Regions from separate parts of the Homo sapiens genome. Here regions 1, 3 and 4 are each linked to region 2. The links are contacts of gene promoters, found by promoter capture Hi-C in human tissues and cell types (Jung and others, 2019). All regions are on one chromosome and are shown on one strand. Each heading gives the region's core, a stretch centred on a gene start or on the middle of the fragment in contact. The rest is flanking DNA. Distances are from core to core; before and after follow the strand shown. Region 1 holds the start of ASPSCR1 (ASPSCR1 tether for SLC2A4, UBX domain containing). Region 2 holds the start of CSNK1D (casein kinase 1 delta). Region 3 holds the start of RAB40B (RAB40B, member RAS oncogene family). Region 4 holds the start of ALYREF (Aly/REF export factor).

Region 1 (6,505 bases), core at 1-2,500, 300 kb after region 2:
CCCTGTAGTTCTGCAACCTGCCTTAAACTTGCCTAGCACAAGCTACCCCCTGGCTCTGGCACGGTTCTGTGCACCTGCTGCCACTGCCTGCACCGCCTCCGCCCCTCTTCTCCATAAAAAGCCAAAGCCGTGGCCTTGCACCAAGGGGTCCCGCGCAGCCTCTGCGGGAGCGCCCCACTTCCGCACTCTGCACGCCTGGCACCAACAGCCTCCTGGCTGCGCCCTCCACCTGCCCAGGCCTGGGGACCCCACGCCGTGGGCTGCTCCCGCAAACTCCGAGTCGTGTGCACCTTCGGATCCTCACGGTCCCCCACGCAGCAGAGGCTCAATAAATACTTTTTTTTTTTTTTTTTGATATGGAGTCTCGCTCTGTCTCCCAGGCTGGAGTGCAGTAGCGCGATCTCGGCTCACTGCAAGCTCTGCCTCCCAGGTTCACGCCATTCTCCTGCCTCAGCCTCCCGAGTAGCTGGGACTACAGGCGCCCGCCACCACGCCCGGCTAAATTTTTTTGTATTTTTTTAGTACAGACGGGGTTTCACCGTTTTAGCCAGGATGGTCTTGATCTCTTGACCTCGTGATCCACCCGCCTCGGCATCCCACAGTGCTGGGATTTACAGGCGTGAGCCACCGCGCCCAGCCAATACTTTTACATTTAATTGATTCGCGGTCACAAGGTGCCCAAGTAAAAGTGCAGTGAGTGACTCGGCAAAAATCGCTTCCAGGCCCCACGGCCGGGACATCTGCCACCGCGCAACCCGGGCTCCCGCTCCGGGGGACGCCCCGGAATGGGAACGCGGGTCTAGGGCTCCACTCCTCCCTCTTCCCGGCGCCCTCGCGAGCTGGGCTCGGCCGGGCGCCGAGTACTCGATGCGGGTGACACGCGGCGCCGTTCTACCTCACCCCTGGGAAGGCTCGCCACCGCCCCGCCCCCACTCGGGACCCCCGGGACCCCCGGGACCCCAGCGGAAGCGCAGGTGACGGCGAGCAGGGGGCGGGGCCGCCGCTCAGGAGGCCGCTCATTGGCCGCCGAGGCCCCGCCCCCGAACACCGGGACGCCGACCGCAATGGGCGGGGCCTCGGCGCAGCGCCCCCCGCCCGCCTACCCGTCCGCCCCGGGCGGGCGGCCGCACCTGAAGCAGCACGGTGCTCGGCGTCACCTTCACCGTGTGGCGCCGGCCGTTCGGGGCCAGCACCGACACCGCGGAGCCTCCGCCGCCTGCCGGGGCCGCCATTTTCCGCTCACGTGACCCGCCGCCGGGCCGGCGTCAAACAACTTTATCGGCAACAGCCAGGACGCGCAGCCACGCGGCCAGGGGGCGGGGCCGCAGCGCACTTCCGGGTCCTGCCAGGCCCCGCCCTTTCCCCACCCACGGCGCCCCGGCCCCGCCCTTGGGCCGCCAAAGCCCGCGCCAGACCCGGAAAGCGCGGTCGTCCTCTGCCTCCGGGAAGCGCGGCTTGGATGGGCTCGCCGGGGCCAGGCTGGGCCGGGGCTGGGCGCGCGGTCACCCCCGGTGAGCGGCACTGAGCCCCGGGGTCCCAGCGGTCCGCGCTCGCCCACCCTCGCTTCGTCCCTGACACGTCCCCAGCTCGGTGCCCTGCTCTCCCCCGACCCTCCCGGCTTCCTCCACTCCAGCAGCTGAGCCTCTTCCCTGCCCACCTGTCCCTGTGGTCAGCGTCCACCTCCTGACCTTATGGTTTGGGGCAGTCCCCCCGCCCCTGTACGGATCCTCCCTGGGTGTTGGGACTCGTGGCCCTCAGTCTAGACCTGATTTCTTTCATCCTAAAATGGGAGTGCAGAATCTGGCAGCCCTAGGGCTGCCGCGACGGTCCCTAAACCTGAGGGTAGGAAAGGCGGGAGACCGGTTTCAGAACCGTGGGGTGAGCGAACTTGAGTCTCACCGGAGCTCCTGCCGACCCACAGGCACTCAAGGACTTCCCGCACCAACCCATGCTGAGGAGGGGCTTGGTGGCAGCCTCAGGAAACACTCCCATCGCCAGCCACCGCAGCAGGGAAAGCACCTGGCCTCACCAGCTCCAGGCTTCCAGAAGGAGCTGCCCTCCTGACTCGCAGCCGTCGAATGTGCTTAGCTCCCAGCACCTGGGCCACTCATGGACAGCACTCGCACGTGTTCCGCCCCGCCCCCCACCTCCATGGCTCAGCCGGGCCTTGGCACTCCTCTCTCCATGTGCCTGCCTGTCTCTGCGGACTCCTGGCTAGGGCTCAGCTGCCCAGTAGCCTGTGGAAGGGGGAACTGGTGCAGTTATCAGTCAATCCTCCCACAGGGCTGGGATTACACACGTGAGCCACCGCACCCGGCAGTCATTGCTGAGTCTAAGGACATCTCTGCATGGGTGCTGTTGTGCCTTCCTGTCGATGACATATCCATGTCACCCACACACACCTGTATGCTGACAAACACGGACATCTATGTACATTGGAGAAACCTGGGGAAAGCCCCAGGCTAGCCATAGCCCTCCCATCCAGCCAGCCAGTCCCATGCTCTGTGCAACCTCAGAACCTTACTGAGCCACACATCACCTGGTGGGTTTTAATTCTTTAGTGGCGTTTTTGAAGAGTCTGTTCCTATTTTCCTTAGACTGTCCCACAGTCTGGATCCTTGGTTAAACGTTTGGGGCAATGATGAAGGGAGGTGACAAGTCAGCAGGAGGTGCAGGACATCAGCGTGGCCATGAGTGAGGACGTGAAGTTGAACCACTTGGTCAGCTTTGGGTCTGCTGAATTCCTCCATGGTCAAGGTCCGTGGCTCCTTGTGGAGTAATTAAGGCATGCGTGAGGTCATTCTCTGAGACCACAAGCATCAAGTTTTCCCAATAACCATTTGCCCAACAGTTTTAGCATCAGTTAATGAGTAGATTCAGTGTTAAACCGTAAAGCTGCAAAATCATGGCTTCCCAAGTTTATTGTTTCTTCTACATTTATAGTCACTTTCGGTCAAGCTTCCCCTTCTTTAAAAAGTTATTAAATATTTGGGAGGCTGAGGCAGGAGAATGGCGTGAATCCGGGAGGCAGAGCTCGCAGTGAGCTGAGATCACGCCACTGTACTCCAGCCTGGGAGACGGAGCAAGACTCTGTCTCAAAAAAAAAAAAAAAAAAAAAATTAAATATGGCCAGGCGCGGTGGCTCACGCCTGTAATCCCAGCACTTTGGGAGGCTGAGTTGGGCAGATCACAAGGTCAAGAGATTGAGACCATCTTGGCCAACATGGTGAAATCCTGTCTCTACTTAAAAAAAAAGTACAAAAATTAGCCGGGCATGGCGGTGCGTGCCTGTAATCCCAGCTATTCGGGACACTGAGGTAGGAGAATCACTTGAACCTGGGAGATGGAGGTTGCAACGAGCCAAGATCGCACCATTGCACTCCAGCCTGGGCGACAAGAGTGAAACCCCATCTTGAAATATATATATTTATTAATATGAATTCATGTATTTTTTTCATTCAGTCAGCATTCTTTTTGATGCTCAAATTGGTCCGAATTTGGCCAGTGAGACCTCCTTTAAGCTGGCTCCTATGCTTTTTTTGATAGGAGGGATGATCTTTTATCCTGATATTATTTCAAACTTAGCCGAGCAAGGTGGCTCACACCTGTAGTCTTAGCTACTCCGGTGGCCGAGGCAGGAGAATTACTTAAGTTCCAGCCTTAGTGAACCACTATTCATGCCTATGAATAACTACTGCACCCCAGCCCGAGCAACGTAGTACGATACCGTCTCAAAAAAGGAGAAGGAGAAGAAAGAAGAAGAGGGAGGAGGAAGGAAGAAAGAGAAGAAAAGTTTGCAAAAGCAAGAATTCCTGCTGTATATCTTTTTTTTTTTTTTTTTTTTTTGGAGATGGAGTCTCCCTCTGTCGCCAGGCTGGAGTGCAGTGGCGAAATCTCAGCTCACTGCAACCTCTGCCTCCCGGGTTCAAGCGATTCTTCTGCCTCAGCCTCCCGAGTAGCTGGGACTACAGGTGTGCAGCACCACACCCAGCTAGTTGTTGTTTTGTTTTGTTTTGTTTTTTGAGACGGAGTCTCGCTCTGTTGCCCAGGCTGGAGTGCAGTGGTGCAATCTCGGCTCACTGCAAGCTCCGCCTCCCGGGTTCACATCATTCTCCTGCCTCAGCCTCCCGAGTAGCTGGGACTACAGGCACCTGCCACCATGCCCGGCTAATTTTTTGTATTTTTAGTAGACATGGGGTTTCACCATGTTAGCCAGGATGGTCTCAATCTCCTGACCTCGTGATCCACCCGCCTCAGCCTCCCAAAGTGCTGGGATTACAGGTGTGAGCCACCACGCCCAGCCTCCTGTATATCTTTTAGCCAGATAAATCAGTGTTTACATGTCACCCCATTTGTTTTATCATATTCTCTTTCTCTCTCTCCATATACATGTAAAAACTTTTTCTGGCCAGGCACAGTGGCTTACACCTATAATCCCAGCACTTTGGGAGGCCAAAGTAGGAGGATCATTTGAGCCTAGGAGTTTGAGACCACCCTAGGCAACATAGTGAGACCCCAGCTCTACAAAAAATACAAAGGTTAGCTAGGCATGGTGGCATGTCCCTGTAGTCCCAGCGATTTGAGAGATTGAGGCAGGAGGATCACTTGAGCCCAGGAGGTCGAGGCTGCAGTAAAGACATTGAGCACCTTCGCCACTAAATACTTCAGTTTTTCTCTTTCCTAAGAATAAGGCCAGTCTCAACCAGGTGCAGTGGCTCACGCCTGTAATCCCAGCATTTTGGGAGACCAAGGCGGGTGGATCACCTGAGGTCAGGAGTTCAAAACCAGCCTGGCCAACATGGTGAAACCCTATCTCTACAAAAAATACAAAAAGTAGCTGGGCGTGATGGCAGGTGCCTGTAATTCCAGCTACTTGGGAGGCTGAGGTGGGAGAATTGCTTGATTGTGGGAGGTGGAGGTTACAGTGAGCCAAGATCACGCCATTGCACTCCAGCCTTGGCGACAGAGTGAGACTCAGTCTCAAAAAAATAAATAAATAAAATAAGGCCAGTCTCTTATATAGCCACCATAATTTCATACAAAATTGGGAAATCTAATGTTGGTATCATACTCTGAGTTAATCCACAGTTAATTGTCCAAGTGTGGACATCTTTCCTGCATCCTTTTGGCATTTCCATTATTCTTTGGGCATCTCCTCTCTGCCCAAGCCCTGAAGTCAGCCATTTTTCAGAGAAACCCCAATCCCTTTTACAAGGAAATGGGATTTAGAGACCAAGTTCTGGGTGCTGAGTGTGCTCATGGCTACTGGGATGTCACTGCTTTCTGGGCCCTCTCAGGGGACACAATTAGTGTGATGAATTCATCTGAATATTTCTAAGCCACACCTCAGCCTTCTCCCCCTTCTTCCCTCATTCCATATTTGTATTTGGTTGAATTCTATTAAATTGCCCTAGTTAACCTTTTTTTATCTTCTTTTTTTTTTTTTTTGAGACGGAGTCTCACTCTGTCACCCAGGCTGGAGTGCAGTGGCGCAATCTTGGCTCACTGCAAGCTCCACCTCCCAGGTTCACGCCATTCTCCTGCCTCGGCCTCCCGAGTAGCTGGGACTACAGGCACCGGCCACCACACCCGGCTAATTTTTTGTATTTTTAGTAGAGACAGGGTTTCACCATGTTAGCCAGAATGGTCTCAATCTCCTGACCTTGTGATCCGCCTGCCTCGGCCTCCCAAAGTGCTGGGATTACAGGTGTGAGCCACCGCACCCAGGCTTTTTTTTTTTTTTTTTTTTTTTTTTTTGAGACAGAGTCTCGCTCTATTGCCCAGGCTGGAATACAGTGGCACGATCTCGGCTCAGTGCAACCCCCATCTCCCGGGTTCAAGCGATTCTCCTTCCTCAGCCTCCTGAATAGCTTGGATTACAGGCGCTTGCCACCATGAGCAGCTAATCTTTGTATTTCTAGTAGCGATGGGGTTTCACTGTGGTGGCCAGGCTGGTCTTGAACTCCAGACCTCAGGTGATCCTCCCACCTCGGCCTCTCAAAGTACTGGGATTATAGATAGGCATGAGCCACTGCGCCCAGCCGATCATTTTTGATCTACAAAAAAATGACAAAACCTACATGGTTCAACCTAATACCTCCTTTGTCCGCAGTGAGAACCCTAATTGTCAGTAAATCAGTATATTTATTCATTTGCTTTGTTCTAAAATGCCCTCCAAATAGTTTCAGAGGTACTGCGGCAATCTTGCTATTAACAACAGATCTACTGTGGAAATTTCAAGATGTCTTTGTAGCTATTTTTGTCCTTTAGAGTATGTCCCATTAAAGAAACATAGAGTATTGTGTTCAAAAGTTATTTGAATTAATTTGCTTTTCTGTGTTAGGTTAGGTTAGTGTATTATAGGGTCCTCCAGAGAAACAGAACCAATAGGATATGCACAGATATATACAAGAGACCAGCCTGGCCAACATGGGGAAACCTCATCTCTACTGAAAACACAAAAAATAGCCGGGTGTGGTGCTGCACACCTATAGTCGCAGCTACT
Region 2 (6,761 bases), core at 468-2,967:
CAGCTTCAGCCCCCTGCTGACAGTTTTCTAGCTCAGAACCTGGCCATGTCTGCACCCTCCCTGTCTTCTCGGAAGGGGTGCTGTCATTCCCTGGGCTACACACCTGCTTTGTCCTCCTCTCTCTGACCCCAGGGCTCCAGGGTACCACTGTCCTCTTCCTTTGTCAGTTTGTTGTGGCTGGGGCTGGTGGTGGGGGAGCCACAGCAATCAGCCTGCCTCACCTTGCCCAGCCCGCATGTTCCCAGGGCTCCTGCCATCCCCACTACACCACAGCCCAGTCCGTGTGCACGGGTTATAGAGTCAAGACACAAACACACAAAAGCCAGGCAGACGGGCACAGTACCTGCCGCAGCTGCATGAAGCTTGGGGCACTATGGGTGAGAAGAGCTAGAAATGTTGGGGCCATCAGAGCCCAGGAGGACCAGCCGAGGGAGGAGCAGCTGACAGGTGGGCAGGTGCCCCTAGTCAGGGACAGCAGGACTCCCCAGGAAGAAGGATCACAGCCACCCGTGGGAGAGCTGGACTCTGTTCATCAACAGAAAAGCCGTGAGCGATTCCGCCAACAAGGTCAGTTTTACTAGTCTGGCAGCCCCCCACCCCCGGCTTCTGTAACTCAGAAACTGGGCAGTTCCGACTGCCCATCCCTCATTAGTGACTGATGGTGGTCTGGCCGGCGGCATCTCCTGTCTCCAGGCCCTGCTATGTAATTTCGGGAATGGACGCCCGTCTCCCCGACCTGACCTCCAGCTGTTTGGAGCTGAGGGGTGGAGAGGAAAGACTGGGGGGTGGAGAAAGGCGAGCACCACTGTGGGGCCTGTGGGGGCTGCTTTCCTCTTCTGCAGTGACCTGGACGGGCTGAGGCTGCTGTCTCACTCACACGGCGGTGCCCACACCACAGCCCTGGTATGCTAATGCGTCAAAACACACCTTCACCTGTTTCACATTCTTGAGTTTCAGCGAGGATGCGACAGGTCTCGAGACACATGGACGTGGGACCATGGGGACGGGTTCTTCAAGGTCCCCATGCACCTGCAGCCTGGGGGGGCTTGTCTGAAGGGCTTTCTTCCCAGTGATGGGAATCAAAGGCCCCGATCTTTGAAGCTGGCCATCAGCCTGAACGTCCACTCCTTGTTTCCTTTGCAAGGAGGAACATTCAGATCCAACACAGATAAGAATGTTGACTCCGTCTCCAGGCCGCAGGGACTGGAGGGAGGCAGGTGGTCTGGCCTCATTTTGTGAAAGGTGGTGGCTTTGTCCTCAATCTTCAGGCTGGACATCAGGACCTCCCAGGGCGCGGGCCTGCTCTGTCTCTGGCCTTAGGTGTCAGGAGGTAAGGCCGCAGACGCTGACGTACTGGGATGCCCCAAGCCCGGGAACTGGCAGCCCAGTGAGGGGGTCTCACCTGTGTCCCCTGAGCCTGGCCTGTCACTCTGTCCACGCCTCAGCTACCTGTCCCCTCCTGCAAAGGGCACCGCCTGTCGCGAGGAACTCACCTGGCTTCCTCGACATCTCGGGGGACACACGAAAAGCCCCCGCGAGAGCAGCAGGAGCCTGCACGTGGAAGGGGCTGGCGGCCCGAGGTCCCGGGGTAACAGGAGGGCAGAGGGGCTGGGCACGGCGCAGGGTCGGGAGGAGGCCTGGAGCGCTCGCCCCGCCCGGCCCCGCCCCTGGAGCGCCGCGGCCCCGCCCCGCCGGGTTGCTAGGGGAAGTGACGTCACAGCGCGATGGCGGCGGCTCCTTTAGGCAGCTGAAAGGGGATTTAGGCCCGGAAGATCCGAGTCCATCCGCGGCGGGGAGAGGGCAAGCGGGACCGGTAGGGGCCGGAGCAGCGGCGGCGGCGCTCGGACTGTCCCATCCGCCCCGTATTGAGGCGCTGGGAGCGGCGGGGCGACAGGAAAGCGATGGTGAAAGCGGGGCCGTGAGGGGGGCGGAGCCGGGAGCCGGACCCGCAGTAGCGGCAGCAGCGGCGCCGCCTCCCAGAGTTCAGACCCAGGAAGCGGCCGGGAGGGCAGGAGCGAATCGGGCCGCCGCCGCCATGGAGCTGAGAGTCGGGAACAGGTACCGGCTGGGCCGGAAGATCGGCAGCGGCTCCTTCGGAGACATCTATCTCGGTGAGGCCCCGCCGCCCCCGCCCGCCGCCCGAAGACCCGGGCCCTGCGGCTGCCAAGACCAAGCGCGATCGCGGAAGGAAGTGGTGGCCCCCGCGGGGTCTCCGCGCAAGTCCCGGCACCGCCGGATCGTGGCCAGAACCCAACGGCCACTAGGCTAGCGCGGCCAGGGGTGGGGAGGGCAGTGGGGAGCGGACGTGGGGGAGGGGCAGGACCAGGTCGGGGGAGCAGGGTCTGGAGAGGGGAGGGTTGGGGAAGGAGGGGATAGGGGAGCTGACCCGGGGTGGGGCATGGTCTCTGGGGAGCCGACCTGGGTAGGGGCAGGGTCGTGGGGAGCGGACTCGGGAAGGGCTGGGTGGGGCGTGGGGAGGCGGGCCTGGGGGAGGGGCAGGGCGGGGGTGGGGGCAGCGGGCCGTGGGAGGGGAGGGGGTAGGGCTGGGGCCGCGAAGCGGGCGTCGGCTTCCTCTACGCCTAAGGTCACCGCAGTAAACAAAGGCCACGCTCTTTCTTCCGCAGCCCGGTCCGGGGCTGTCTGGCTGCCCCCTCAGAGGCTGCCCCGGTGTCTTGCATTCGTGGGGGAAAATGTCAGAAAGACCCAAATGCCGTGTGGAGCGGGGGAGTGGCCCGGCTAGGAGTGGGGCTTGCCCTCCCGCTGGGGGTTCTCTCTGAACGGTTCCCCTTGGCCTTGGAGCGGTGACTGAGTGCAAATGAGCAAGGGTTAAGTTTAGGTGAATGTAGAGAAAGTCACACAGGATTAAGATGCTGGCAAGATGAGAGGCAGATGAGGTAGTTGTACTCATGAGGTGTCCTTTAGACTGTAACAGTCTCAAGGTAGATTTCAAAAACAATGGGATTAGAAGGTTTTGGGTTGTGTCATATTTACAATGGAAAAATATGCACGTGAACACAAGTGTGATGAAAGGTTGGCTTAAATCTTCAAGTTTGTAATTTTTTTTTTTTTCCTGAGACGGAGTTTCGCTCTTGTTGCCCAGGTTGGAGTGCAATGGCGTGATCTCGGCTCACCGCAACCTCTGCCTCCCAGGTTCAAGCGATTCTCCTGCCTCAGCCTCCCGAAAAGCTGGGATCACAGGCGTGCGCCACCACGCCTGGCTAATTTCGTATTTTTAGTAGAGACGGGGTTTCTTCATGTTGGTCAAGGCTGGTCTCGAACTCCGGACCTCAAGTGATCCGCCCAGTTCGGCCTCCCGAAGTGCTGGGAAGCCACCGCGCCTGGCCCAAGTTTGTAATTTTAAAGTAACTTAATTTTCCGCACTTGTTAGTGGGATTGTGCAATGCACGAGTTATTCCAAGATCCCCTGAATTTGAGGATATGTAGCCTGAGGCGGTGTGCCTGCAGAGGGGCTGCTGCAGACCTTTGAGGGGAGCTGTTTTCTGTTCCAGCAGCCCTAGCTTTGGGGTGTGTTTTAACTGGGGCACCTGTCAGCTAGGGTCAGGAATCCCCTGGGATGTCAGTAATGCCTCTGGTCATACCTTTTAGATGAAGCCACATGTGGACAGTCTCCAGTTCTCACACCCTTCCCACTTGTCACCAGAGAGAGGACTCAGGACCCGGTGGGCTGACAGCGTTAGGACGAATCCACACATATGGGTGGCTCATACTTTCGGTGCCTGGTTAACCTGCCAGGTGACCCTGTCACATGCCATATTGTTGCTTTTGAACCTGTACATATGCCTTAGTGGACTGCTGAGTAAGCAGGCTTTAGACATTTGGGTTTGGCTATTAAACATTTATACCAGGTGGTCAGCTGGATGTGTTCTTGGCAGTGTTTGGGAAGTCAGAGTGCTTGGTCAATGGAAGTCGTTTGGCTTATTTATAGAACAATGGATTTTGGCGAAAGTTTTAACCCCAGGATCTGAGTTACACTGCAAAGCCAGTCCATTAGCCACCTTTAGGCAGGCATCAAAAAGGAGTATTTTGGGCCGGGTGTGGTGGCTCACGCCTGTAATCCCAGCACTTTGGGAAGCTGAGGTGGGCGGGTCGCTTGAGGTCAGGAGACCAGCCTGGCCAAAGTGGCGAAACCCCATCTCTACTAAAAATACAAAAATTGGCCAGGCGTGGTGGTGGCTGCCTGTAATTCCAGCTACTTGGGAGGCTGAGGCACGAGAATTGCTTGAACCTGGGAGGCGGAGGTTGCAGTGAGCCAAGATCACACCACTGCACTGCAGCCTGGGCGATGGAGTGAGACTCTGTCTCAAAAAATAAATAAATAAGAAGTACTTTGAAACTATCTGTTCTCTGATCTGAGACCTTGTCAAACAACTTTGTGCTTTCCAAAGATAGATTAAGACAAATTTTGGTGTGGTTGTCACCAAGTAATTCCAGAGGTGGAGGGTGGAAGGCTGTCTCCTCACTCAGCATTCTACCCTCCAGGCCTCACCTCGCGCTGGGCATACAGTCATGCTGGATACGGGATTGCGGGCGGCTGTGGCTCTGACACCCTGGGGTTGGAGCCCCCAGACAGCCGTCCCAGACAGCCACCCATCAGGGTACACGTCCAGTTACTTGAGTGGGGTTAGGCACAGCTGATTTTTTTTTTTCCCATCAGCATTGGCTCCTAGCCTACACTGTGGTCCTTTCAGACGACCCCACGGAGGAAAGGCGAGGTGGTCACGTTAGCCGGAGTAAGGCAGTTTGAAAGAAGCGTGGGTCTGAGCAGAATGGCAGTTAGAGTCAAAGATGGCTGATCTGAAGACTATGAGATGGATCGGTCATCCCCACCATAGTTTTGTTTGGGCAGCCAGTTACACATAAATCGAGGAACTAGGTCTTCATCTTGACCTCTGTGTGTCGTGTATATTCTAGTATGAGTATCGTTAAGACCATTCCTACTGTTGTCACTTTGGTATCCTCCAGGTGGGGTTCACCTTGCTTTGAGCTTGGCTTTTGGGTTCTTGTTTTTCTACCGGGGACTTTCTGTGCTTTCAGATGTTTGAGACCAGGAAGGGGGGAAGGCTGTGCTTCAGTGGAGTGCCTGTGGGCTAGAAGCGTGGTGTGGGCCTGCCTGCCCCGACCCTGCTGTGACAGTTGGAGGGCGGGTGCTCACTGCAGGGCCCTGCCAGGTTGTCGTGTTCCAAAATTGCCCCTTCAAAGGGGGCAGTATTTTGGGGCTATTTCTTGAATGCCCAGGCTTTGGAAAGTGGGACCCCAAAAAGAACAATCTGTCTTCAGTCTGAGATTGCCAGATCCGCAAGGCCCTTCAGGAGGGCAGGTTGGGAAGGTGACACAGCCCACACACACCTGTGGAGCGCACACCTTGGCAGCCTGTTGTGTGACCTGGCCCCGGCCCTGTGCCGCCCTCCGCATCCGTGTCCATGTGGTGTGGCCATAAACCAGAAGTTCTTTCACTTATGCTGGCAGAGTACCACTGGAAATAAACTTGGTAACATTTGAAAACAGCCAGTGTCCTTAATGTGGACCATGAGTTCCCAGCCCCAGAACCACAGGGGTGTCTGGCGGAAGAGGACTGTTCAGCTGGGCTAGGCTAGAGGGAGAGGCCTGCTGTGTTCACCCCGCAGGCGGCCCATGCAGAGAGGCAGTGAGAGCCCAGCTGGTCCTGCCTCTGTTCTCACCTGTAGTGTGTTCTGGAGGTTAGTGGCAGGACTGGATTACCTGGCTGGTGGGCTGGACAGATGAATCTGTTGGCATCTGTACTTGATCCCATCGCACCATCAGCTTGTCAGGGCCTCCATTTGTCCACCTGTTACCTGGATGGACTGACTTCATAATGTGCACAAGCATCTTTTGGGAGCTAACTGCTTCATCTCTGAAGCACACGTTTTTCCCCTCACTGACTGATTTCTCAAGAGGCAGCCTGCAGGGTGCCTGGTATGCAATAGGGCCCCAAGATGCTGACCAGCCATGAGAGGAGAGCGACCACCTGTTCTTCCTGTAGCTTCTGGGGTCTCCTCACTGCAGTGTTAGGGCTGTAGCCTCTGTTGACCTTGGACTCTCCTTAACTCAAGCATCTGTAATGAGAAGTCGTGGTACTGCTGACCGCTGCCCTGCGAGTTGACCTTTGTCCTGCTGCTCAAGGCGTCTCCCTGTTTTTTTTGTTGACAAGACAATCCTTAATGGGAGTTGCCAGCATCCAGGCTGGTAATTCAGAATTACCCTCCTGTGCCAGGACAGGGCCACACTCTGGTTAGGTTCGCTTAACTCACCATCTGCTTTTTTTTTTTTTTTTTTTTTTTAAGACAAAGTATCATTCTGTTGCCTAGGCTGGGGTGCAGTGGCGCGATCTCAGCTCACTGCAACCCCTGCCTTCTGGGTTCAAGCAGTTCTTCCGCATCAACCTCCTGAGTAGCTGGGGTTAGAGGCGCACACCAGCATGCCTGGCTAATTTTTTTTGTATTTATAGTAGGGACGGGGTTTCACCATGTGGGCCAGGCTGGTCTCGAATGCCTGACCTCAAGCGATCCATCAGCCTCAGCCTCCCAAAGTGCTGGGATTACAGGCGTGAACCACCACACCCGGCCACCATCTGCTTTTGGCTGCTGAACTTGAGGGACGTAATTTTGTTTTTGTAGGACTAACATTAACTGATACCCAAACACGGACTGAGGAAAGCCCTGTCTCACAGCAGACCAGGATTGTTGAGCTGCAGGGAAGAGTTGAATTTGTTTTGTTGACAG
Region 3 (6,249 bases), core at 1,790-4,289, 420 kb before region 2:
CAGGATAGTCTCGATCTCCTGAACTCGTGATCCACCCGCCTTGGCCTCCCAAAGTGCTGGGATTACAGGCTTGAGCCACCGCGCCCGGCCTTTTTTTTTTTTTTTTTAAGATAGCATCTCACTCTGTTGCCCAGGCCGGAGTCCAGTGGTGTGACAGCGGCTCACTACAACCTCTGCCTCCTGGGTTCAAGCAATTCTCCTGCCTCAGCCTCCTGAGTAGCTGGGACTACAGGCTAGCGCCACCGTGCTCAGCTAATTTTTGTATTTTTAGTAGAGATGGGGTTTTGCTACGTTAACCAGGCTGGTCTCGAACTCCTGACCTCAAGTGATCCACCCACCTTGGCTTCCCAAAGTGCTGGGATTACAAGCATGAGCCACCACGCCCGGCCTCACCTCCACCTTCTGATGACATTTTACTCGTGGAGAAGCATCAGTAAATGTTCCTTTCATTCCTTCTGCCCACAGAGGCCTAGTCTCCAGAGCAGCCCCAGATCATGGGTGGGTGGATGTTCAAGGAGATTTCAGCGTGGCCACAGGGAGGAATGTTCCGATGATCCGAGATGGACAGGTCTGGAAGCCTGGCTCTGAGTTGGGCAGAAGGTAGGCTAGTGCTGTCCAGACACCTCCACCCTCTGCCTGGACTTTACACATGTACTGAAACTGGGGAGGAGGAAGAGGTATCCCACCACAGGACTGTCCCTCAGGAAACTGGGGGCCCTGGTGGGAGGAAACCTGCTTTGGCTGTAGAAATAAACACCTCTGTTTGGTGAAAGCAATGTTTGGGGCAAGAAGATGGACACCATATCTGAACACAGCCCTCTTCTGACGTGGTTATTTTACCTGGCCCTCCAGGTGGGAGTGGCCATGTTCCAGCTCAGCCAAGGCCAGCTTGGAGGTGACAACTAGGAGGTGGTGAGGACCTTCTGTGGGGCAGGAGAAGAGCAGACAAGGGCTCCCCCATCACCTGTCCTCTGTAGGAAGTGGTCTGGCCACCCCTCTCCATGCCCCACCGTGAACACTGCTGGACTGCTGGGTGTGACCCCGAGGGTGGGCTGGGGGCCTCCTGACCCCTATTGTACAGTGAGTCTGGATGTGTAGGTGGGGAGCGAGCAAAAGAAGGTACCCTTTCCTCACTAGGTAATAGCCATGTGACCCACAGCTGATTGGAACATGGAGACTGAGGGTTAGGGATGGGAAGGAAACTCCCCTGAATTCTTTTTGGCAGAGTGGTGGGGCTGGGGACTAAATGCCATCTTTCTCATAGTTTTCTAGCGTCCACCTTCCATCCTCTTTTCTTCCTCTGACCTTCCTTCTAAAAAAAAACAGTGCTGCAATCCCAGCATTTTGGGAGGCCGAGGTCGATCACTTGAGGTCAGGAGTCAAAGACCAGCCTGGCCAACATGGCAAAATCCCATCTCTACTAAAAATGCAAAAATTAGCTGGGTGTGGTGGCACATGCCTGTAATCCTAGCTACTTGGGAGGCTTGAATCCAGGAGGTGGAAGTTGCAGTGAGCCAAGATTACATCACTGCACTCCAGCCTGGGCAACAGAGCAAGACTCTGTCTCAAAAAAAAAAAAATGTGGCTGCATTAGTAACTAAAGCAACTAATCAACCAATGAATAACAGGTGTTGCAAACTAAATTGGCATTCCAAAGTAAACATTTTCTAGGTCCAAATGAATGCAAATGACAAATATAATAATCTTGACTTCAGTCTCTTTTGTAATTCTTCTTCCGCTCCCTCTTCTGTTCCTCCCCCACAAAAAACTTCTAATGGGGTCTAGAGCAGTTCCCTACACAACGCAGGGTGGAGGGGATGAAGTAGTGGGGGCATTATCCTTCTTCTTGGACGGAGCTCGCCCTTTGCCTGCTGCCTGAATTCTGCACCAAATAAACCAATGTGCACCTGGTGAGACCCTCAGAGCGAAGGGCAGACCTCGGCCTGGCAACCCTTGCTCTCTAGAGCAGAGGAGAAGCCAAAAGGCTGGAGGGTCCCACCCAATGCTCTCCTCCAGCACGCACGCAAACACATGCATGGATGCACAAACAAGCGCACGCACACATAGGAGCGCATGCATAGAAGCAGCACACGCAGACACACACATGCAAAGATGCCTGCAAAGGCACACATGCACACGCACATACATGTGCAGACACCTGCAGAGGCACACATGCACACGCAGACACACAGATGTGCAGACATCTGCAGAGGGACACATGCACACGCACATACATGTGCAGACACCTGCAGAGGGACACATGCACACGCAGACACATAGATGTGCAGACACCTGCAGAGGGACACATGCACACGCAGACACATACATGTGCAGATATCTGCAGAGGCACACATGCACACGCAGACATGCACACACACGAACACATGCACACGTACACAGGCGCATGTGCACACACAGGCATTCAGGCACGCCGCGTAAATGGGGCAACGACGAGGCCCTGGATGAACCGTGGGGAGAGACCGCGAGCCTGGATTCTACGGCGACAGGGACTCCTCCGGCGAGGCGGCCTGCGGGGGCCTTCCGGCCGCGTCCGCCAACTGGACCGACCCCGAGCCCCACCCGGCCAGGCACCCGAGGTCTCCCTGGTGGGCAGGTGGGGAGGCCCCACGCTGGGACCCTGCACCGCCCCTCGCCCCTCCCGACTCGGGGCGTGCAGACCCGACGACCGTGGGAGCGAGTTCGTGGCGCTCACGGGCGCACGCGAGAGTGTAAACACCCGGCCCCACCCCCTGATCGCCCCCACCCCGCCCCGCCATTGGCTGCGGGAGCAGAGTCCCCGCCTCCTGCTTGTTCTGGCTCCGCCCCTGCCCCGTCTCCGGGCCTCCATTGGCTGTGGTGACAGCGACCTTTCAGGAGGGGCGGGTGGGCGACAGCCCGGAGGCGGTGACGAGAGTAAGATGGACGGACAACCAAGCCAGTGAAAGCGCGCAGCTGCCCTAGCAACTGCGGTCCACCAATGGCGGGGCCGGGCGGGGATGCGCGCTGTCAGCGCTGGGCGGCGGGGCGGGGCCGGAGGCGAGCAAGGACTCGGGGCCCGCGCGGCGCCTCTCGGGGCCGGGCCGCCGCCTCTGCGCTCAGCCCCGCAGGCCGGGCATGGGTGGGGGCGCCGGGCCGTCACGATGAGCGCCCTGGGCAGCCCGGTCCGGGCCTACGACTTTCTGCTCAAGTTCCTGCTGGTGGGCGACAGCGACGTGGGCAAGGGCGAGATCCTGGCGAGCCTGCAGGATGGCGCGGCCGAGTCCCCGTACGGCCACCCGGCGGGTGAGCGCGGGCGGAGGGCGTGCCGGGGTGCGGGCGCGGGGCCGGGGAGGGGCGCGGGGCTGGGGAGGGGGTGCGGGTGGGGGTCCGGGTCCGGGGACGCGAGACCGGGCAGGGGTCGGGAAGAGGCCGGGGCGCGTGGCCGGGGAGGGTAGGAGTCCCGGTCCGGGGGCGCGGGGCTGAGGAGGAGCGCGGTTCGCGGGCGGGCCTTTCTCCGCCCGGCCCTGGCCCTCGTGCTGCGGCGTCCCTGTTGCACCCCCAGTTCCACTCGAGGCCCCGCGGCGCAGTCTCCATCCTTCTCCGCAGTCTGCGCGCAGCGGGAGCCCGCGGCTGGGCCGGGCGCTGGGCTCCTCCCGACCTGGGGCCGCTGCTGTGGGGACCCGGGGCGGGGGCTCGAGTCCGCAAGTGCGCGTTCGGCCGCGGGGCAGGAGGGGCGGGAGGGGACGCGAGCTCCGGGGCTCCTGGGGCGGAGCGCGGCGAGCAGGCGCCCAGGTGCTGGGTCTGCGCGTGGGTCGGAGGGGAGGGGAGACCAGGGTCCGGTCCCGAGGCCAGGGGTCCCGCGTGTCCGGGGGAGAGGAAGGAGCACAGGTGACTCGCGTGCGGAAGAGGGGACCCCCCACGACAGCGGCCGGAGAGCGGGTTCCAGGGCGAGGGGAGGCCGGAGCGCCCAGAGCTCCCAGGCAGGCAGCCCGGGGATCCCCCAAGTTTGAGGCTTGAAAGCCGGCGCCCGGCGAGGGGGTGGACGGCTCCGGGGAAAGAAAGGCGGGGGCAGGAACCCAGGAGAAGGGGGAACGCGCAGAGGCGAACACCTCGGCTGGGAGTGAGGAGCAGGCGGGGCCTTCACCCACGCGCATCCCTGGAACAGCTTGGACGAGGCCGACCCTGAGGCTGTGGAAGGAGCCCAGCCTGTGCCCACCTTCCTGCCGCGCCTCGGGGCTGAACCCACGCTTCCAACAGAGACCCGCTCTGAGTCCTGGGCGGAGGAGGGCAGCCGGGCGTGGAGATGGAGTCTTGGTGGGAAGGACCTGTCAGCTCTGGGGCCTGGGAAGGGTCTGGGAAGCCCCAGGTCCAGGGTCCTGCCAGAGACGAACTTAGCGGGAGAGGGTGGGAGGAAGCGGGATCTGAGGCTGCTCGGTAGAGGGTGCAGGCTGTCCCCTAAGGGCAGCTCCAGGCAGGCGGCGTGAGCACCAAGGGAGTGTGGCACGGCTGGAGGGGGTGGCCTGAGACTGTGGAGCGTGGGGTGGGACTCAGGTGCCCGGCCACACCTCAGCTTAGGGGACGGGGTGAGGAATGGGCAGAGTTTGGGGGAGCAGCTGAGATGGGCTTGGGCTCACGACCAGCACCCAGAGGCCTCCTGAAACTGCAGCATGCGGGGGAGTCTCTGGCAGCTGGTGGGTGCAGAGTGTGCTCCGTGGGGCAGGAGGGGAGCCTGCGTCTCTACCTGTCCCCAGGCGCCGCTGCCCCCGCATGTCCTACCCCCCTCCCCGCTCGGTGGCAGGTCTCTAGGACCGTGGTGTCCAGTAGGATGCCATGAGCCACGTGTGGCTGTGGAAGTGTAATTAGAAGGAAAGAAAACAAAAAGCTTCCATTCGTCACATTTCTAGATAGTTCGGATGTCGCTGTGGCAAAGTCCGAGGGCCAGCGCTGCCCTGGAGATTGAGCGCCTGGAGGACAGGGCTGGAGATTGAGCGCCTGGAGGACAGGGCTGGAGATTGAGCGCCTGGAGGACAGGGCTGGAGATTGAGCGCCTGGAGGACAGGGCTGGAGATTGAGCGCCTGGAGGACAGGGCTGGAGATTGAGCGCCTGGAGGACAGGGCTGGAGATTGAGCGCCTGGAGGACAGGGCTGGAGATTGAGCGCCTGGAGGACAGGGCTGGAGATTGAGCGCCTGGAGGACAGGGCTTTGTCTGCACTGTGCCCTCGGGGTCTGGGCTCAGTGAGGGATGAACCCTACCAGAGCTACAGGAATAAAGCACCCAACAACGTGTACGCCCAGACGAATATGGCGCTTTAAGAGCTGTGCGTGTTTTGGGGGAGCAGACGGTTGACAGTGTTGAGTTTGATTGAAGGTGAGTGCCGTGGGGCGTGTGTGAGAAGGGTCACGCACAGAATGTTTGTGAAACTTCCTTCTGGTTGGTTTGAATGGAGGCTCGGGGATGCTTCTGCTGCGTGACTTTTGGTTGCTACATGCCGAACTGAGGACGAACCAAAACAATGGTCCAATGCTTTGTAATAAAGGCTTTCCCTTGACACGGAGGGAGGATTTAGGCTAAAAATACACCTCCCACCGGGCCGGGGGCGGTGGCTCACACCTGTAATCCCGGCTTTGGGAGGCCAAGGCGGGCGGATCACCTGAGGTCAGGGGTTCGAGACCAGCCTGATCAACATGGAGAAACCCTGTCTCTACTATAAATACAAAAATTAGCCGAGCATGGTGTCACATGTCTGTAATCCCAGCTACTCGGGAGGCTGAGGCAGGAGAATTGCTTGAACCCGGGAGGCGGAGGTTGCAGAGATCGCACCATTGTACTCCAGCCTGGGCAACAAGAGCGAAATTCTGTCTTAAAAAAAAAATCCCATCAAGAGCTTTATTGTCTACTTGGCCTGAGCTGCTGTAGAAAAAACTGATATCACGGGTGTACCCTTGCAGGTTTTTGATTTACCAAATATTTGTTTTAGAGTTAAGAAAAGATATTCTGAAAAATAGTAAGAAGTTGAGATCATTATGTTTTGTTTTTTATTTTTTCAGAGACAGGGTCTTCTCTGCCGCCCAGGCTGGAGTGCAGTGGTGTGATTGCAGATCACTGCAGCCTTGACCCTCCTGGGTTCAAGCCATCCTCCTTTTTTGGCCTCCTCAAATGCTGAGATTATAGGCCTGAGCCACAGCACCTGGCCATGTTTTTTTTTTTTTTTAATGACATGTTTCGCTGAGAAACACTATAGGTGCTTGTTATTGAAAGGTGAGGGCAG
Region 4 (6,375 bases), core at 43-2,542, 380 kb after region 2:
TCAAAAAACAAAAACAAAAGCAAGTATCTCAAAACAACTTAAAATCCATGAAATGGGCTGGGTGTGGTGGCTCATGCCTGTAATCCCAGCACTTTGGGAGGCCAAGGCGGGCGGATCATCTGAGGTCAGGAGTTCAAGACCACCCTGGCCAACATGGCGAAACCCTGTCTCTATTAAAAATACAAACATTAGCCAGGTATGGTGGCACGTGCCTGTAGTCCCAGCTACTCGGGAGGCTGCCGCTGGAGACTCGCTTGAACCCAGGAGGCAGAGGTTGCAGTGAGCCGAGATCGCCCCACTGCACTCCAGCCTGGGCGACAGAATGAGACTGCCTCAAAAAAAAAAAAAAAAAATCAATGAAATGGCACACTGGTTTTCATTAATAAGTTGCAAAAATAATTTTTTTTTGGAGACAGGGTCTGGCTCTGTCGCCCAGGCTGGAGTGCAGTGGTGCCACCACGGCTCACTGCAGCCTCGACCTCCTGGGCTCAAGCAATCCTCCCACCTCGGCCTCCCAAGTAGCTGGTAGTACAGAAGTGCACCACCATGCCCAGCTCATTTTTTTTTTTAGAGATGGGGGTCTCACGATGTTGCCCCGGCTGGTCTCAAACTCCTGGGCTGAAGCGAACCTCTTGCCTCGGCCTCCCAAAGTGCTGGGATTACAGGCGTGAGGCCCGCGCCCGGCCCGCAAGAAAACTTGTAAAGGATATGACTGGCAAAATGTGACAGTGCAGACTTGGGGGGGCTGCAGGTGGAGACCAAAAAACCAACCCGCAGCTCGTCTGCAGCGGCTGCCGCCCGCCGAAGCCGCGCCCGCCGGACCCCACCGCGAGCCGAGCGCACAGTCCTGGGCGGGAGCGGAAACAAGGACTCCCAGCAGCTCCCAGGCACCCGCCGCGCCCGTAGCGCCCCCAGCGCCCCCAGCCCTGGCCGATCGGGCGGAGCGTGCGGGGAGGGAGGGGCGCGTAGGCTCCGCCTCCAACGGCCGCCGCCCCACCCCCTGCGCCCTCGCACCTTCGCCAACCTAATCACGCACCGCCCTACCCGCCCTTCCGTTGGCAGCGCCGGCGTCCGCGCGGGAAGGTATAAAAACGACCACAGTCGCGGCCCGACTCCCTCAACAGCGCCCGCCGAGTCTCGCACGCCAGTGCGCACGCGCCTCCCCGCCTCACCCCGTCCCGCGCGCGCAGCCGTCCGCCAGCGGCCAATCAGCAGCCGCTCCGAGGCCGTGGCACCGGAAGGCCTCACGCGGCGCCGGAAGTGACGTGCCGGCGTGCTGACGCGCGGGCTCGAGCCGATGCCCGATTCCGCGCCCGCCATGGCCGACAAAATGGACATGTCTCTGGACGACATCATTAAACTGAACCGGAGCCAGCGAGGCGGCCGGGGCGGGGGCCGGGGCCGCGGCCGGGCCGGCTCCCAGGGCGGCCGCGGCGGTGGGGCGCAGGCCGCCGCGCGAGTGAATCGAGGCGGCGGGCCCATCCGGAACCGGCCGGCCATCGCCCGCGGCGCGGCCGGCGGAGGCGGCAGGAACCGACCGGCGCCCTACAGCAGGGTGAGTGCGGAGGCCGGCCGCGCCGGAGAGTGGGAGGGGGCCAGCCGGGGCTGGGGCCGGGGCCGCTCGCGGCGGAGACCCGGGCCGGCGGGTGGATAAGGCTGGTGGAGCGGCCGCCCGGAGGTCCGGAGGGTGCGTGTGGGCGCGGAGGGGGTGGTGGGCGGGAGCGAGGTCGTTCTTTCGGGGTCCGGTCCCGGAGGCTGAGACCCTTCCCAGCTCTTTGTTTGTTCCGGACGTTGGGGCCTCGTGGCAGGAGAGGAGGGGACGCTGGGCGCGGCACAGGCGGCGGGAAGTTAGTCTAAGGGAACTGAAGTTGTGCGGCCGCGGTGGGACCGTGCGGCCTCGGGCTGGGGCAGCTGCAGCGCCGGAGGGAGCGCTGGCGGCCCCGTTTCGGCCGGATCCTCTCAGGCCGGGAAGAGGAAGGGTCCGGAGTAGCCGTGAGGGTCAGGAAAGCCCTGGACTGAGACTCACAGATCTGCTCTTGTTGCGGTTTTTTTTTCAGCCAAAACAACTTCCCGACAAGTGGCAGCACGATCTTTTCGACAGTGGCTTCGGCGGTGGTGCCGGCGTGGAGACAGGTGGGAAACTGCTGGTGTCCAATCTGGATTTTGGAGTCTCAGACGCCGATATTCAGGTAAGAGACGAGGGCTTCTCGGTGAGCCGTTCGCCCTGCACAGGACGGATCGTGATTTTGGGGATGTGGCCCTGAGTCCCCTTCCCGCCTTAGCGAAGGGAGCCCTCCCAGCTCTGAAGGGCTGCAGGACAGACCCAGTGCTAGTAAAGCCGGGGTCAGTGCGCAGGCAGGTGCGAGCCTAGCTGAGCCTGAGGAACTGCTGCTGTTAGTCTGAAGATGGGTTCTGTGAGTGAAAATCCCCTGCCAGGGCTTCCAGTTTCTAACAGGGACAAAGACTGACCAAATGTGAGTGGTTTTTGGCTGTTAGACCCAGCCCAGTTGCTTTTTAAATTTTGTGCCTGTCTTAGTGGGTTAATGTGAGAAAAAGAATCTTCTTTATGTATCTTGTGAAGCACAGGGAGTCTGTTTTTCTGGCTCTGTTTGCCTTGAGTACTGTCTTATAAAGACCTTGTACGCTGTGGTTTTATCACTCCCCACCGCCGTGTCCCGTCAGTGACATGACTCTCAAATCCATCTTTGGTTGAAGCTTTTCTTTTTTAAAAAAAGAAAAATTGAATCCCAATGGCATTTCAACTTGTTTTCTGGTTAAGAAATGACTTTTTGGGAATCAGTTTTGGAGATGGCTGGGCAGGGTTCAGTTGCCCACAGCCCAGCCATTTGCCTTGGGAGGACAGAGTAGGGCCAGTGAGCACTCACAGTGTCTCAACACTTTTTTTAAGGTGGTTTCTAGCATCCACTGGAAACCGCTTTTGGTGAACTCCAGTTCCCGCTGTGTGCCTGCGGCCGGAGTATCCCCACACTCTGGGTTCCCTCTCCAACTCCCAGCCTGCCTGAGGTCAGGGCAGTTTCCATGACAGCGCTTGACTTCAGACTTTGCCGCAGGCTTGAGTAGGAGGAGAGGGAAAGGTGAGCCAGAATCTGCCTTTGGGGGAGGGGCTGGGGTCAGGGCTCCCGAATCTACAGGCCCTTCAAGCTGGTCTGATATCGGACTGCTTCCCTTGCTCTTGATTTTGGCCTTTACCGTTTCTTGGAACAGCCCTTGGGTGTGTTGTACATTTTCCTTTGTTGAAGAGGATAGTGGCTTAATTTTGTGCCCGTTGCTAGTGGGCTTTGCAGCTTCCTCTACCTGCATCGTGGTACACGTGTCAGGTCCCCACAATGGCAGGAGCCCTCAGACCCAGGTGCTCTTGGAAGTTGCTGTCCCTCCTGCCCCGCCCTTCCCTCATTTCCCGTTAACCACTGTCCTGCCTCCCAGAGAACCACCCCCAAAGCAACTCACGCTTCCAGGGCCTGTCCCTGGGCCACCAGAAGGAACGCAGTTTTGTTGCTTTTCTGACAACTGCTCTCTGCAACTCCCAGGAACTCTTTGCTGAATTTGGAACGCTGAAGAAGGCGGCTGTGCACTATGATCGCTCTGGTCGCAGCTTAGGAACAGCAGACGTGCACTTTGAGCGGAAGGCAGATGCCCTGAAGGCCATGAAGCAGTACAACGGCGTCCCTCTGGATGGTGAGTCTGGGGGTGGACCCACGCTGACTGTGGGGCTTGTGGAGTTTGGGGCTGGCACCTGTCCAGGTAGGAATATGGGGTACCCCTGTGGCTGAGGACACTTTGCATTTGCCCCTTTGTCTCTCTCTTCCATCTGCCACCTCTCATGCTGCCCCACACATCTGGACCAACCTCTTGTGAACCCCCATCCAGCAAGCTACATCCCTCCCCTCCTTCAGCTCCTTCCGGAAGATTCACTTCTGTGAAGCCTTCTCAGAACCGCCATAGTACACCTCTGAGTGCGGGGCTGTAGTCGTAAAGACAAAGGTACCGGTTCTTCTTCGTCAGGTCACCCACACCTCTCCACCCACGAGCACCCCGATACCTCAGCGAGCAGCCCACCTAGTCTGGACTGAGAAGGAGTGAGGAGGTGTTGGTGGGGTTGCTTCCTTGCCATTTTGTTCTCCCACCAGTATCTCCAGGCCATTTCCCTTGTCGGGGGCATTTGAGACGCACAGAGGCCCTTTCCAGTGTTTGCATGGAGACCAGGGTGTGGCGCCAGCTGGGTGGGTTTCAGAGCCTCTCAATAGAACGTGCCTTCTCGTATTCTTTGCCGCAGGCCGCCCCATGAACATTCAGCTTGTCACGTCACAGATTGACGCACAGCGGAGGCCTGCACAGAGGTGACTTCCGGGGCCTCTGGGGAAGGGGATTGGCCGAGGGTGAGGCTGCGTCGCTCTTAGGGTCCTTCCGGGTGTGTGAACGGTTTCGTCTTCCTTGCTAGCGTAAACAGAGGTGGCATGACTAGAAACCGTGGCGCTGGAGGTTTTGGTGGTGGTGGAGGCACCCGGAGAGGCACCCGCGGAGGCGCCCGTGGAAGAGGCAGAGGTGCCGGCAGGAATTCAAAGCAGCAGCTTTCGGCAGAGGAGCTGGATGCCCAGCTGGACGCCTATAATGCGAGAGTGAGTCCCGGGGGAGCCAGCTGGGGGCCTGGTCAAAGCCGCAGTGGGGAGCAGGCCGCCTGTGAATGCAAGCCTCTTTCTCCTCTGTGTTTCAGATGGACACCAGTTAAACAGACCAGCAAATCCGCGTGCGGAACAGGACCCAGGCGTCTCCTCTTGCTCCCTGGTTGGGGGGCGGTGGCTGGGGCTGTGCGGCCAATGATGGATTTGTTTCTTTTATGTTTTAAAATAGGATTTAAAAACTCATGTAAAGGTTTTTTTTTTTTCTTTTTTTTTTTTTTTAATTCTGAAACAGACCTGTTTTGTACCGAGTTATTTTTGGGATAAATTTTACTGGTTGCTGTTGTGGAGAAGGTGGCGTTTCCACCTTTTCCATAATAAAATAGAAATGTGTGTAGAACTGGAACTGTTTGATTCGTCCCACTGTTGGAGTCCAGGCCTGGGCCAGGATTTTGGTGTCTGTCCAGCTGGGAGGGGGTGGGAGAACCTGAGTTGGGGATGGAGGGAGCAGCCCCATCTGGTGTTGGACACCTGAAGTTGGCATGGGTTGTGGGGGTGGCGGGGGGTCCCCGCTCCTGGAGGGCCGAAGCTGCCTGTCTTCTTTCTTATCTTCTTTCCTGCCTCACACCTAACACCTTCCTCTCTAACTCACCAGGTGGGAGGACACCTTTGCCCGGGAGCCACCTGTTGACCCTTGTGCCTGTGCCTCCAGGTGAGGGGAGGTTGGGGTGGGATGGCTGCCCTGTGTGCCGTCCACAGGCTTCCCACAGCCAGAACATCTCTGGGCTGTTCCTTTCCTTCTTGTACTCTGGTTTTCAGAGAAACGTGGATTCAGCAGTTTTGACTTTGTAGTGTAATTCCTTTTTCTGTTTGTTTTTTTGTTGTTGTTTTTAACCTTGCCACGGAGCAAGGCATGAGGATCCTCTCTTAGTTGTATATTTGATGAAGTGGCTGGTGGAAGCTGTGATAATCCGTCCATTTAAGAGTGGGGCGGCTGGGCGCGGTGGCTCACGCCTGTAATCCCAGCACTTTGGGAGGCTGGGGCAGGCAGATCACCTGAGGTCAGGAGTTCAAGACCAGCCTGGCCAACATGGCGAAACCCCGTCTCTACTAAAAATACAAAATTAGCTGGGTGTGGTGGTGCATGCCTGTAATCCCAGCTACTTGGGAGGCTGAGGCTGGAGAATCGCCTGAACCAGGGAGGTGGAGGTTGCAGTGAGCCGAGATTGTGCCATTGCACTCCAGTCTGGACAACAAGAGTGAACTCCGTCTCAAAAAGGAGTAGGGCAACGCCTGATACCTGTAATCCCAGCACTTTGGGAGGTCAGGGCAGAAGGATCTCTTGAGCCCAGAAGTTCGAGACCAGCCTAGGCAACATGGCAAAACCCTATCTCTACTAAAAATACAAAAGTTAGCTGAGTGTGGTGGCGTGCTCCTGTGGTCTCAGCTATTCTAAAGGCTGAGGTGGGAGGATCGCTTGAGCCCTGGAGGTTGAGGCTGCTGTGAGCCATTATCATGCCACTGCACTCCAAGCTGGGCAGTGGAGAGAGAGCCTTGTGCCCCCTGATGCTGGGTTGGTGACAGCACTTTGAGAATGAGATGGGAAGGGGGACAAGGGAGCTCCAGAGTTCTGCCTGACCCCACTGTCCCACAGCTGGGATGTAAGGAAGCCCAGGGCAGTGGGCAGTGGTAGTGGAGAGACAGACAGGAATGCATGCCGTGTCTGCAGAAACCTTTC

What was found. Contacts are between HindIII fragments. The study calls those that stand out against the background at their distance.
Region 1: a contact is called between the fragment with the promoter of ASPSCR1 here and the fragment with the promoter of CSNK1D in region 2, in 2 of the 25 tissues and cell types used here (dorsolateral prefrontal cortex and lymphoblastoid cells).
Region 3: a contact is called between the fragment with the promoter of RAB40B here and the fragment with the promoter of CSNK1D in region 2, in 1 of the 25 tissues and cell types used here (dorsolateral prefrontal cortex).
Region 4: the fragment with the promoter of ALYREF here is called in contact with the fragment with the promoter of CSNK1D in region 2 in 4 of the 25 tissues and cell types used here (dorsolateral prefrontal cortex, liver, lymphoblastoid cells and 1 more).

Annotation. Positions count from the first base shown.
Region 1 is chr17:81,972,374-81,978,878 of GRCh38, reverse strand. ASPSCR1 (ASPSCR1 tether for SLC2A4, UBX domain containing) reads right to left here and starts at 1,250. Exons shown (of 16, transcript NM_024083.4): 1 at 1,131-1,250. The coding sequence starts at 1,232. It overlaps LOC105371939 (a long non-coding RNA gene), which reads left to right and starts at 1,394. Exons shown (of 2, transcript XR_933953.4): 1 at 1,394-1,511; 2 at 1,922-2,911. It overlaps LOC124904087 (a long non-coding RNA gene), which reads right to left. Exons shown (of 2, transcript XR_007065951.1): 2 at 2,544-2,768. RefSeq lists a silencer at 755-1,614 and enhancers at 1,093-1,864, 1,865-2,638. The HindIII fragment of the contact is 10,548 bases long and covers 1-4,829 here.
Region 2 is chr17:82,268,656-82,275,416 of GRCh38, reverse strand. It overlaps CSNK1D (casein kinase 1 delta), which reads left to right and starts at 1,717. Exons shown (of 9, transcript NM_001893.6): 1 at 1,717-2,111. The coding sequence starts at 2,036. It overlaps LOC124904089 (a long non-coding RNA gene), which reads right to left and starts at 1,639. Exons shown (of 2, transcript XR_007065953.1): 1 at 344-1,639. RefSeq lists silencers at 1,578-1,787, 2,028-2,217, 2,268-2,317. The HindIII fragment of the contact is 10,787 bases long and covers 1-6,761 here.
Region 3 is chr17:82,695,488-82,701,736 of GRCh38, reverse strand. It overlaps RAB40B (RAB40B, member RAS oncogene family), which reads left to right and starts at 3,039. Exons shown (of 6, transcript NM_006822.3): 1 at 3,039-3,282. The coding sequence starts at 3,141. RefSeq lists silencers at 2,471-2,860, 2,881-3,310. The HindIII fragment of the contact is 28,650 bases long and covers 1-6,249 here.
Region 4 is chr17:81,886,503-81,892,877 of GRCh38, reverse strand. It overlaps ALYREF (Aly/REF export factor), which reads left to right and starts at 1,292. Exons shown (of 6, transcript NM_005782.4): 1 at 1,292-1,555; 2 at 2,058-2,189; 3 at 3,549-3,696; 4 at 4,295-4,358; 5 at 4,460-4,637; 6 at 4,733-5,043. The coding sequence starts at 1,298. The coding sequence ends at 4,747. It overlaps ANAPC11 (anaphase promoting complex subunit 11), which reads right to left and starts at 1,155. Exons shown (of 4, transcript NM_001002248.3): 1 at 1,037-1,155. RefSeq lists silencers at 736-1,275, 3,306-3,470 and an enhancer at 3,274-4,473. The HindIII fragment of the contact is 25,438 bases long and covers 1-4,566 here.